Linked DNA regions of Homo sapiens: region 2 is linked to region 1. Evidence: promoter capture Hi-C in 16 types of primary human blood cells and fetal thymus (Javierre and others, 2016). All regions are on one chromosome and are shown on one strand. Each heading gives the region's core, a stretch centred on a gene start or on the middle of the fragment in contact. The rest is flanking DNA. Distances are from core to core; before and after follow the strand shown. Region 1 holds the start of CCR2 (C-C motif chemokine receptor 2). Region 2 has its middle 41 kb from the start of CCR3.

What was found. Contacts are between HindIII fragments. The CHiCAGO score rates a contact against its expected background, and 5 or more counts as called.
Region 2: a contact is called between a fragment that was not itself captured here and the fragment with the promoter of CCR2 in region 1, in 1 of 17 cell types (monocytes). The highest score is 5.0, in monocytes.

What each region holds. Positions count from the first base shown.
Region 1 is chr3:46,350,230-46,357,106 of GRCh38, forward strand. It overlaps CCR2 (C-C motif chemokine receptor 2), which reads left to right and starts at 3,882. Exons shown (of 2, transcript NM_001123396.4): 1 at 3,882-3,948. RefSeq lists an enhancer at 1-148. The HindIII fragment of the contact is 10,451 bases long and covers 1-6,877 here.
Region 2 is chr3:46,280,261-46,287,137 of GRCh38, forward strand. No RefSeq gene overlaps it. Among named protein-coding and RNA genes, the nearest start is that of CCR3, 41 kb to the left of the region's middle. The HindIII fragment of the contact is 3,907 bases long and covers 1,442-5,348 here.

The DNA of each region.
Region 1 (6,877 bases), core at 2,632-5,131:
AAACAAGATCTTAAACATCTTAGGGCCAGCATTCTGGGTCTTCTTTTGTTATTTGGGGAGCATAAACTATTCTCATATCATTGGCTTGCAGAAAAATTGAGCTTCTCCTCTTCCTTGCCCCATGTCACCTTGAGGTGACCACAGCCCTGCCTTCTATGTAATCCTGCTTGGTCAGCAGGCACATCAGAGCTCAGTGGCTTGTGACATACTTTCCTTCAAGCCTGCTCGAAGGGCCATACTCATCATTGAGACTGGGAACCTTAGAAACCATGAACCCAGTGCCAATGGGTAGATACAGAATTCTCAAACTCATGAAAAAACATCCTTTTTAACTCTCTCCGTGTGCATAAAGAATTCTAAGATGTACTGATCAAGATTCCCAATTTTCTAACTATCTATTAATATATGGACGAGGTAAGAAGAAAGTTGCAAGAAAAAAATTTGTTTGACTTGACGGTTGTGTGGTTATTTGCCACACTCCCCCAGATCCACTCTGAGTCCCAGGATGCTGATTTTAGGGGCTACATTGCCTAGACTGTCCATTATTCCCTCTTCCCATCTGGTTCAGTCACTGGGAAGCACTGGTAGGAGGTCAGAGTGGGAGAAGGAGGTTAGGATACTTTCTGCCCCTGCTGTCCTACTGCTTTGCTGAACTTCTAGCAGTGGCTGAGCCATCAACCTGCAGCTCTCAATTCCAGCTGTCTGTAGCACTCAAGTGGTATTGTTTATTCTTTTGATCCTTCTAGCTGTTAAGGAAGAAAAAAATAATTTTTTCCTCAATGCTCATAAGTTCTTGGAATGGACCCCTGTAACAAAAGACAGATTAACACGAGAAAAGTTTATTAACGTACATATTTTATACGTACATAGGAGCTATCCAGGGAATGAATAATTCTTAAAAAGGTGACTTTGAATTCCAGCTCATATAGCATCTTCAACAAAGTTCAGTAACATTTTAGAGATATGACAAGACAAAGAAAATGAACTTTGAGCCTCTAGGGACAGTGACTTGTAGGAAGGCAAAAGGAATAAATGGAGGTAAAGGCTGGTTAGTAATACTTGTTAATGAAGATTCCTCTGGTGCCATCTCCAGGTCCACAAGGATTTAAATTTGTCTTCAGTGGTGAACCTTTGTTCACCCTGGCAGAAGGTGTGGAGGGGGGTGCAGATCCGTTTTGTCTTTGTAAGTCTATATCCTGCTTTTAGACAAATAAAGGGAGGGAAAAGAGCTTTCCTTCATCTGCTTCTTAATTGCCTTCAGCTCAACAATCCTTATGCAAAAGAGGTACATTTTAGGGTGTCAAATTCTGGTCTCCCACAAAGCATAGGGATGACAGACCACCTCACCATCCCTGTTGCTTCTTTTAAGCCTGCTCACCCCTCCAAAAATATTTTCATTCTATACTGTCTCTTCAAAATCTCAGCGGAGGGTGCCCTCTGTTATCCTGCCCTCTGTGTCAGTATAAGCCAAAGGTTTGAATCCTGGCTCTGCAACTATCTACCTCTGTGCCTCTCCTTGTTTATGAAATTACAGGGCTGGAGACAAAGATCACAATGTGAAGACAAAATTGGAGAGCGGTCCTAATCAGCCAGAGCAAAATTTCTGGCTCTTGCTCTTCCCCATCCTGGGTTGAATCATAGGAACAGGTGGCAAGATGCCAGGGTCAGGAGATTCCAGAAGTGGCAGCAAGCTCAGTGTTACCAGGTCAGGGATGACCTGTCTTATTATTGAAATCTCAGAGATATGCTCCAATTCCGGCCCAGAGACACATTGAGAGACAACTGGGGAACTTGCTATGTTCCTGAACAGGCAATGAGCTGTCTTCCAAGAAAAAACCTGAGACCCTTCAAGTCTCAGGTCTTACTTAGCACATATACCAGGTCTTACACAGGACACATGGTTACAACTGACTGAAATCTGGGCTGGGTGTAGGAGCTCACACCTGTAATCCCAGCCCTTCAGGAGGCTGAGGCAGGCAGATTGCCTGAGCCCAGGAGTTCGAGACCAGCCCGGGCAACATGACAAAACCCCATCTCTACAAAAAATAGTCAGGCATGGTGGCATGCACCTGTAGTCTCAGCTACTTGGGAGGCTGAGATGAGAGGATTGCTTGAGGTTGAGACTGCAGTGAAGCATGATCATGCCACCGCACTCCAGCCTAGGCAACAGAGCAAGATCTTGTCGCAAAAGAAAGCAAAAACACAACATAACACAACAACAACAACAACAACAACAACAGCAAAAAAGCCAACTTCTTGAAATCTGGAAAGGACACCTGGACTGCCCTGAGCATTTGATTGTTGTTGGCTCTAGCAGTGGATGCATCCTTCAACCTCTGGCACTCTGCAGGGCTCAGACTGTTCTGTTCTGTTTGTTACCTGTGGAGTGCCTGCCAGACCCTGCTCTAGCTGCTTTAGGTCCATTTACCCTCATAGACCCCCAGTCTTGTTATTCATATTTCATATTTGGGAAATGGAAACTTAGAAACTTGCCAAGTCCACAGCATGAGATCCTGCCTCCGGTGTCTGCTGGATTCCAGAAAGTGCCAGGGGCCAACTTAGATGACACCATGTTCTCTGCACAATCTTAGGAATGCTCCTAGTCTGATGTCCCCATTGCAAAATTTACATTATCTTTTAACAAAACGTCTTTCCAAGGAGGGGCATTTAAAATAACTGAGGTTCTTCTTGCTAAGGACGTTCCTGACACAAGAGATAATTTAGCATTTCCTTTTCATTAAAAAGTTTGAAATCCTGTAATTTGTGATAATGTGGATGAACCTAGAGGATGTTAAGTGAAATAAGCCACACACAGATAGACAAATACCACGTGATCTCACTCTTATGTGGAATTTTTTTTTAAATAAGTTGCTTAGCCGGGCATGATGGCACACACCTGTAATCCTAGCTACTCAGGAGGCTGAGGTGGGAGGATGGCTTGAACTCAGAAGGTGGAGGTAGCAGTGAGCTGAGACTGTGCCAGTGCACTCCGGTCTGGGTGACAGAATGAAACCCAATTTAAAAAAAAAAAAAAAGTTGCTATCTTAGAAAAAGACAGTAGAGCAGTGGTTACCAGAGACTGGGGAGGAAAGAGAGGAGGTGAGAATGGGCAGCAGTTGATCAACGGGTACAAAGTTACCATGAGATAGGAGAAACAAGTGCTGGTGCTCTGCTCCAAGTAGGGTGACGGTAGTTAATAATGAATTCTGTATATATAAATAGCTAGAAGAGAGGGTTTTCAATATCATTATTATTTCAAAAGAAATGATAAATGTTTCAGAGGATGGATATGTAATTACCCTGATTTGATCATTGCACAATGTATACATGTAGCAAAACATCACATTGTGTCCCATAAATATATACAATTATTATGTGAATTAAATAAAAAAAAATTTTAAAGTCTTATCTAAATGAAATTTCTAACCAGATTCTGAATCCATGATACCACTGAAACCAGCACACATGATCGCAGTAAAACCTCATTATACTTCCTCCACTATCACCAATACCCTTTATTCTCTGGAACATGAAACATTCTGTTGTGCTCATATCATGCAAATTATCACTAGTAGGAGAGCAGAGAGTGGAAATGTTCCAGGTATAAAGACCCACAAGATAAAGAAGCTCAGAGTCGTTAGAAACAGGAGCAGATGTACAGGGTTTGCCTGACTCACACTCAAGGTTGCATAAGCAAGATTTCAAAATTAATCCTATTCTGGAGACCTCAACCCAATGTACAATGTTCCTGACTGGAAAAGAAGAACTATATTTTTCTGATTTTTTTTTTCAAATCTTTACCATTAGTTGCCCTGTATCTCCGCCTTCACTTTCTGCAGGAAACTTTATTTCCTACTTCTGCATGCCAAGTTTCTACCTCTAGATCTGTTTGGTTCAGTTGCTGAGAAGCCTGACATACCAGGACTGCCTGAGACAAGCCACAAGCTGGTGAGTTGTAGGCATTTTTTCCATTACTTTCTGATTCATAGGCTCAACGCACCTCAAAGCTGGAAATGCCGGGTCTGGGTACACCCTGGGGAACTGCAAAGCCTGCACACTTGGGGGGAATGATCAAGATGAGAGGCAGGGGTGGGGATGGCATGTGCACCAGGAGATGTTAGAGAAACCCTGAGGAAGAGCAGCGTGCAGCAGGTGATGGGGGAGAGTGGGCAGCAAGCGAGGCCAGGACAGCCACTCTGCTCAGTCACCAGTCCACACACCCAGGGGCTCACTCTGCCCCTCTGAGCACCCAAGGACGTTAAAGAGCTGGAACTGTTAGTCTAAATATAGGACCATCCAAGCTCTGAACCAAAATGTGTCCCTTGCCTCAACTCAGGAGATCCACAGAGGCAGAAGTAAGGAATTTATTTTCTGAAAGATAGATTTCTATCAGTTCTGGGTGACATGTTCTGACACTTGAAATGACACCTAGGACAGCACATTTCAGGCATCTTGCTCATTGTTCACTGTAGTAGAAGCTACATGCTAGCCAGTTGTAAAAATGAAATTAAGTAATGTGTGCACAGCATTTAACATAGCATCTGAGCTTCAGGAGCACTCAATTAATGACCACAGTTGTGATTCTTTAGGCAGATGCATTTTTTTCCAACTTTGATCAGAGGTCTTATTTAGCTTCTCCAGATTTCAAGAATCTGGCTCAGTGATATGAAATACAAGACTTGTGAAAAGTGTCAATTGCAAGAGAAATGGAAGGATAAAGTATACAGGTGGGTGGAAAAGAAATTCACAGTCACTGCCAGAAAAAAAATTCTTGAGAATCAAGTCCTGATGATGTTAGGGCTTATAGTTCTTATTATAAAGAGTTTTATGTACTCATTCAGTGAACATTTATTGGTGCCTCCTTTAGCCAGGTACTATCATAAGAGCTGAAAATAGAAGCATAATCCAGTCCTTGATCTTGAGGAACATGCTGTGTGTAGCAGATAACATAATAAGTGCTTATCTAGATGCATGCAGTGTTATGTGATAAGAGTAATATGACAGAGGATACAGATTAGGCTTCACAGAGAAGGGGGATTTGAGCAGGAGGTATTGAAGGGTGAATAGAAGCTCACCAATCATTTTGGGCAGAGGGGCAAGGACCTGCAAAACCACTGAAGCATGAAGGAAATGGTGAGTTTAGGGAAAATGAAGAGAAGATGGCTGTGACTGAAGCACAGGATTTGGGATTGGAGAAGGGACTGGAGGTGAGGCTGAAAAGAGGCAAACTCAGAAAAGATGTTGTGCTGGGCAGTCTGGACATTATCTTTGAAGCCCACCACATATAAGTCATAGGGCTACTGGAGGTTTTAAGCTAAGAGTGACTATTCAATTTCAACTTAAGAGAAGATAGGTTGAGAGGGAACATGGCTTGAGATGAGCCATGAGCAAAGGAAAGACTACAACAAAGCCAGGAGTGAGGAGTGTGTGAAGCAAGAAAGTGACAGTTGAAAGCAGTGCAGAGGGGATGAATCTGAGAGGCATCTATGAGGTGGAACTCAAATGACATGATAATAATACAGGGCATTTCTCTGTGTCAGATGCTGTCCTAAGTCCTTACTCCATTGATCTTCACAGCAACTCAGCATAGTTAATATTTTATGCATAAAGAAATCGGCACTTGAAGGAGTAATTGGCCCCAGATTACACTGCCTATAAGGATTCAAATCCAGGTTTGTTTGGCTCCAAAAACTGGCTCCTAATTTTCAGAAGGAGAAGCAACCCAGGGCAATGCCCAATTTTGCTTCTTAGGCAATGGAGGAATCCACAATCGGAAGGAGTTTTCAGCAGTGCCCCATTTGGGGTGGGTTGAATTTGAGGTCCCTGCATGATACCCACTTTGCTCACTTCAGTGCCTAAAACTGAGTATGGTTCATAGTAGGTGTTCAATAAGTGTTGATGCAGTGAATACATGCATGGGGAGATATGCATCAGGCAATGGGAAATTCAACTCTAAGGCTTAGGGGAAAGCTGGAGCTTGAAGACAGAGCTTTAGAAAACAGTAGCATAGAAGGGAGTAGGAACCATGAGTTTAGACAATACAATTCAGGAAGAACTTTGTAGCAAGGATAAAGAGGCAAAAAATTAAAGAGGTGAGAGCTAAGTGTGGTGCCTGGGGAATCTTAAGGTGTGGGCACGGGGAGGAGATGCCAGCAAAGAACATGAATAAAAAGCGGTAGCACAGCCCCTCCCATCTGGAAGCCAAAAAGAATTGTAAATGGAGGAAGTTAGCAGAAGGATCAAATACTTGAAGAGGGTGGAATTGGAATAAAACCAGGGCATTTGAAAAATTGGGTTGTCACTGCAATCTTAACAAGAGAAGTTTTGGCAGGATGATGGAGGCAGAAAGCTGAGAGAATCATCAGTTAGAACGTTTTTGACTTCAGAGAACAGAAAATGCAGTTCATAATGGCTTTAAAACAGGGGCTTGTTTTTCTCCCAGCAATTTGAGAGGCCAAGGCGGGTGCATCAGGAGGTCAAGAGACCGAGACCATCCTGGCCAACATGGTGAATCCCCATCTCTACTAAAAATACAAAAATTAGCGGGGCATGGTGGTGCACGCCTATAGTCCCATCTACTCAGGAGGCTGAGGCAGGAGAATCACTTGAACCCAGGAGGTGGAGGTTGCAGTGAGCTGAGATCATGGCCACTGCACTATAGCCTGGAGACACAGCGAGACTCCGTCTCCAAAAAAAAAAAAAAAAGAAGGCAGAAGGTGAATAGTTCAAGGGTGGGTTTAGGACTCAGTGATAATAGGATTCTGCCTGGCTTCTCATGGTTCTCTAGGTCTTCCATTCATGGCACCATGCCCTCACTAGGCATGCTGCCAGAGCAGGAGGGGCAGGTGGAGGGTTCTCTTGTGTCTGTCTTATCAGG
Region 2 (6,877 bases), core at 2,145-4,644, 70 kb before region 1:
AAACAGATCTGTCTTGAGTTGTAGTGAGAAAATGTGGCCTCTCGCCAAATTCTCAGAAGTGAGTCACTTCATAAAATGAGGGCCTTTTAAGTGAGAAGAAAACCACACCTCAAAAAAAGAGCTCTACAATATGTCATACATGATACTCTAACACCTAGGCTTTCCCAAATGAACCTGTAACCAATTTTCCTGGAATAATATGCACTGGGAAAAAGAAGCACCCACAGCCTTTGGTATTATTGATTGCCAATTTTAAGTTACAGTAATTCCAAAAGACCCAGGAAATCACTCTAGTCAGCCTCAGAGTAGGCACCCATGAGGGCCAGGAGATAGAGGTGCTTCCCCCGCCCCTTTGAGACAGGGTCTCACCTTGTCACCCAAGAGTGAGTTTGGTGGTGCGATCTTGGCTCACTGAGCCTAGACCTCCCCAGGCTCAGGTGATCCTCCCACCTCAGCTTCTTGCGTAGCTGGGACTACAGGCACATGCTACCATGCCTGGCTAATTTCTGCATTTTTTGTAGAGATGGGGTTTTGCCATGTTGTCCAGGCTGGTCTCAAACTCCTGGACTCAAGCAAACAACCCACTTGGCCTCCCAAAGTGCTAGGTGATAGAGTTTTGATGTGACTTTGTATCATCGTAGGCAGAATTTGGCCCAGAACCCACCTTGTGATTTTCACCAGTCTCCAGTGCAGTGTTAGAATGAACATACTTAGTAGGCCGGGCGCAATGGCTCACGCCTGTAATCTCAGCATTTTGGGAGGCCGAGGCGGGCAGATCATGAGGTCAGAAGTTCGAGACCAGCCTGGCCAATATGGTGAAACCCCATAACTACTAAAAAAAAAAAAAAAATACAAAAATTATCCAGGCATGATGGTGCCGGCCTGTAGTCCCAGCTACCCGGGAGGCTGAGGCAGAAGAATCGCTTGAACCTGGGAGGCAGAGGTTGCAGTGAGCCAAGGTCGCGCCACTGCACTCCAGCCTGGGCAACAGAGCAAGACTCCATCTCAAAAAAAAAAAAAAAAAAAAAAAGAATGGGATTCCCATTAGGCTTTCAGACAGTAAATAATGGCTACAACAGAGGAAGGCCCAAGTGGAAGCCACTGAAGGCCCCCTGCCCATACAAAGCAGAAAATCAAAAACAACGCTCTATCCTATGAAGAAAATAGCAGATTAGTCTCATCACAGATAAGAAAGACACAGATATGTTGATTCCTGTCATACCTCCTTTTAATGCTCCAGTTTTGCCAGTAAAAAAATTTAAAAAATAATAAAATAAAATAAATTGATGGGTCTTGGGGAATAGCCATGGAATGTTACGACTAAATCAGATGGTGACTTTCACTGTGTGTGTTGTCTTCTAAGTTTGGTCCCCTTGCTGAGGCAAATCATTACAGTCATGGTATTTGGCATGTAGATGCCAGTCTAGAGTAGGGGCTGGCAAGCTTTTTCCTAAAGGGCCAGATAGTAAGTATTTTAGGCTTTCAAGCCAGCTGGTCTCTGTCACAACTACTCAACTCTGAAGTTGTAGCAAGAAAGCAGCCACAGACAACATGTCAGTGCATGGGCACAGCTGTGTTCCAGTAAAACTAGTTTTCAAACACAGGCACCTACACACTGGAGTTTGCTAACTTCAGATCAGGAAAATACAGTTTTCTCCCTTTTGGTACAGAGAGGCACCCAAAGAAGCAGTTTGTCTCCAGCTGTCAGGAGCAGAGTACACGCTGCCATCCTGCCTGGGAGTGATGCTACTTTCAGGTGATTTGCCTCACTGTAATCTGCAGGGACCTTGTGACTGCATCACCTGACAGGACATCACTTTGGTCCACATGGTTAATATTGTGCTGAGAGGACCTGGGAAACGGGAATAACAAAAACCTTCAATGTCTTGATAAAACACACGGCTGACAGAGAGTGAAAGATAAAGCCGGAGAAAATATCAGAGTCTCCAACTTCAGGCAAGAGGTGAGGTCCAGTGAAAGCAGATAGCCTCAGTGTGTGGAGTCCATGCCTGGTCTCCTTCCCTGTGCCACTGTTTACGCTGTTCATGAGCCTCTGAGAAATCATCTGGCTGCCATAGGAAGGGTGACCCAGCATGTGCTATTTTCCAAGTTTCTTCCATCCTGGGGGGCATTTTGGTGAGAATTCACATGAGATATGAACATTTTTAGGTTTGGGTCTCATTCAAATAAATCCATTGACATACTCCTCCAAATCTTGATAACAATTTTCCATTTAATTCCTTCTGTCTTCCCTTACATCTAACCATATATAATAAACACTTTCTAGAAATATGTGTAGATTCTGACCCTTGGTGATCTCTCCTTCGAAGCAAAGAGGACACTATGATAAACACCTTGATTTCTGCCACCTGGGAGGTGTCTTCTCCACTTGTCCTTTAGGGCTACCCCTGAGAGGGGCTGAATCTAACACAATCTACCTCAGGTTGGTGCAAGCAAAGTGCAGAGTCCTCTATCCATAAGACAGGCATGAGTGTTTTCATCCTCAGACAGATCATCGCAGCCAACTTCCTGGGAGGCCACAGGTCCAGGTGAAGGGAGAGGATGGCAGTTGTTGGGACTAGGGATGGGATAGGCATGAATAACCTGCCCATGCTGCCTTTCGAACCTGTGTGGATTACATCCTATATAATCCCACTTCCCCTTTATGATGCAGTGTTATTGGGTCTCTCTGTGGCAAAGTAGGTCAGGTGGCAGTCAGTTCATAATAAACAACCTGAGTGTCATGGTAAGCTGGTGTCTCATAGTCAAACTCTCAGAGTCCCCTGGAGTCCAGTAACAACCCAGGACTTATTTTTTTGCTGAAAGGGATGTAGCATTTCTTCGCCCTCCAAGGGGCTGCTGCCATGCTCCTGTCCAGGCTTGTATCCAAAATTTGACTCAAGGAGTTCAAGAATAGCAAAAACGGGTGTCATCGCAAAGTAGAATACCCAGTAGTAGTAGTAGCAGCAGCAGTAATAGCAGTAGTAGCAGTAATAGTAGTTGTTGTTGTTGCTGTTGTGATTCAGGAAAAACTCCCAGAATGGAAGTACACAGGTCTGTGAGATGAAGGGGGTACCAAGTACCCACCAGGATAAATGGACACAGACCCTCTTCCGAGCACATCATTATGAACTTTCAGAACAACAGGGATAAATATATTGAGAGCTTTTAAGAGGGGGAAAAACAGGTAACAGAAAGGAATAGAAATGGACTTGACATCAGATTCTCAATGACAACATTGGCTGATACAAGACTGTGGGGCAACAGCATCACAGTTTTGAGAAAATATTATGTTCAGCCCAGAAATCTCTACAGAGCCAACGTATGAGATCCACTGAGGCTTGAATATAGATATTTTTAGACACAGAAGGATTTTGCAATTTACCTTCCATTTACCCATTCTCAAGAAGAGACAAAATATATGCTTTAGCAAAATGAAGAGGTAACCAAGAAAGAGGAGATCCTAGGATCTTAGAAATGAGTTCAACACAGGACAGTGGCAAAGGAATCTCCAGGACCTCCACAGAAGCCTGTCCAGACTGGTATTGAGAAAGGACATGAAATTTGTAGGTTTCGAATATTTTAAAAAATTATTGTTGGGCCCATGACAGATCAAATTTGAGCATTTTGGAAATTGGTGATAAGTATTTTTACAAAGTAAGCAGATGGAAAAAATCAAAAGAAACTACTATTAACTCCAAGAATATAAAACATTAGCTCAACAGTGAATAATACTTATGTGGTCATAATAACATGAACACTGACTAGTCATTTAACCAGAAACTGTCAAAAAACCATATTGAGAGGATGTTGGGAGGGGAAGGAAGTGTAAGCTAAATCCTCACCTACAAGAACAGGAAATCAATAAATTCTGTCTAAAATTGATACATTATGAAGTAGCAATCAATATAAGCATGTTACTTAACACTTAGGGCAGCACCAGAGAAACAGCCAACAGAGTTGAAAGTGGTTGCCTCATAGGAGTGGGCAGGGGTGGGGAGGGGATGGGGCAGGAAATGCTATTTCTAATTTCTTAACTATGCACTATTACATCTTGATAACTTTTTCTTTTTGGACGGGGTCTCGCTCTGTCACTCAGGCTGGAGTGCAGTGTCATGATCATGGCTCACTGCAGCCTCAACCTCCCAGGCTCAAGCAATTCTCCTGCTTCAGACTCCCAAGTAGCTGGGACTACAGGCGCACACCACCATGTCTGGCTAATTTTTGTATTTTTTTATAGAGACAGGGTTTTGCCATGTTGCCCAGGCTGGTCTCAAACTCTAGGACTCATGTAATCCACCTGCTTTGGCCTCCCAAAGTGCAGGACTACAAGGCATGAGCCACCTCAACTGGCCTGTAACTTGATAACTTTTAAAAACTTGATGTTATTAGGTGAAGAAGTAAGAGCAAAAATATAATAAAATAAGAATAGAAGAGTATGATTAAACTATAAACACAATTCCTTACTGTGTACCAGACACTGACAATTGAAAGACATAAACACAAACTTGGCCATTCACTCCTTAGTAACCAAACACAGAGAAAACACTTCCCATTATAGATGCTAGAATATTATCAGATTATTAGAGCAATACTAAACTAGAGGCCAACCAACTACACATTTTGGGAAATGTTGAATGGTCCAATGTTAGCTAAAAATCAGTACCTGGCCACGCTAAGGCCAAAACTGTCACCATCATAGAAAAAATTGTTGGGATTTAAGAACAATCTGAAATTGTATTTTAAAATGTAATTATAATTGCAACTGTATTGTTAAAATTGACTGCTCTGATTTTTAAAGTTTGATATCTAGGTGAGGAAACCACCACTTCTCAGCACTGTCAGCATTCCACGTTCCTGTGGTCACTATGCGGCAAGTGTAAGATACAAGTCAGAGGCCTCCAAGTGAGGTCGGTAGGAGGGCAGGGTTTGGTGTTTACTGTGCCAGTATGAGGGAGTGCTCATGATGATGTCACCAAGATTTTCAGCTTTCCTTTCTTTATCTCTCTGGGCAATCAGCTAAGGTAAAAGCATCTCTCCTCTTCAACTCCTGGAATTAAAGATACCATCATGAATGATAATACAATTTCATTGTTTGTGCACTACTTAAAGAAGTCTTCTGAGTATGTTCAGAAGCTCTCTATTTGGACACCTCTTAGGCAACACTTCCAATCCTCTTGGGCTCTTGTGCTGTGGGCTCCAGCCAGCCTTGCACAGCTGTAGCCGGATGTGCCTGGCCTGGGCCTGGGCCATGCCTCTCATCCCTATCTCAGGGCTCCTCCACTGACACTCAGCACCCACACATGTGCAAGCTGCAAATGCAGGGGACCTCATGCCTAGTGGGGCAAAGCTTTGACCAACGGGTGACCGGATCTGATGGGGAAAGGGATCTCTTTTTTCCCCTAGGTTCATAATCCTAAGAAGCATCTCACAGCTCGTCAGGCAGTCCTGAGAGGCCTAGCAAGCAGCTCCCCTGGTTGGGTGCATGTGCATCCTCATTCTGGCCCTCTCTCCTTTCCTGCTTTACTCCCCTGTCCCTCACCTCTACTGTCTCAATCTCAGCCTCCACCTTCTGGGGAACCCAAACTAAGACAAAGGCTTATGATTATTGTCTTGACTTTTATTTTTAAATTTCTAGTATTTTTCCATGCACATGGGATTCCATAGAAGTACTTGAGAAGAGTTTGTTCTGAAGCCTTGAATCTAATAATGTGCCATGGAGCAATGTGATTGGCATTAGATACTTTTTAAAAAAAAATCTCAGATTCCATCTGCATCTTGGCTTCCACTGCACACACACCTCTGGAGGAGGAGGATCTTGACGGCAGTATCGGGTCGGAAATATTTGCACTCTCAAGATGACTTCTTCAGCTGGTTCCCGTAAATGAGCTATTTTTCCACAAGCAACTCTTGGTTGTTAGCAAGTTCTATGATGCCAGTACTGTTTTCTGTAAAGTTTATGATTACACTTTCTTTTGATCAAATGGCTGTTCCAAAGCATCATGCTTCCTATGCCACTGGAACATTTTGGATGAATGTGCATCAAGCCAGGTCCACTATTTTGTGTATCTCATATAGTTTACCTTTGGCTAAAAACCAAATGCTGCAAGTGCCCTTTTACCTTTTTGCTTACAACCAGCAATTCTGCTACATGATGCTATGTTGTAGTTACTTTCTGAAAACACAACTGAAATGTGTGAACAAAACACTGCATGCTCATGATTTCTAAATCACTCATAGCTTCACTATGTGCTTCCCATTGTCATTGACAATTATACAATTTTTTCCTTTGCTGATTTTCCATTCAATAAATATTTCTTCCTTCATTCACTGTGTTGTTTTTGTATAAGACCCGGACACCTCTTCACAACCAAGTAAAGCCAAAGCATGGTAGAATTCAGCGTTATTCCACTATGCTGTTGAACTTAAAAAATATATATATAGGTCGGGCGTGGTGGCTCACGCCTGTAATCCCAGCACTTTGGGAGGCCGGGGCAGATGGATCATCTGAGGTCAGGCGTTCGAGATGAGCCTGGCCAACATGGTGAAACCCCATCTGTACTAAAAATACAAAAATTAGCCAGGCATGGTGGTGCGCACCTGCAGTCGCAGCTACTTGGGAGGCTGAGGCAGGAGAATCGCTTGAACCCGGGAGGCGGAGGTTGCAGTGAGCTGAGATTGTGCCACTGCACTCCAGCCTGGGTGAAAAAGCAAGACTCTGTCTCAAGAAAAAATATATATGTGTGTGTATATATATATACTAAAAAATATAAAAATATATATTCTGTAGTTGTCAGAGACAACAGGAAGCACACGGTGAGGCTATGAGTGATTTAGGAATCATGAGCGTGCAATGTTTTGTTCACACCTTTCAGTT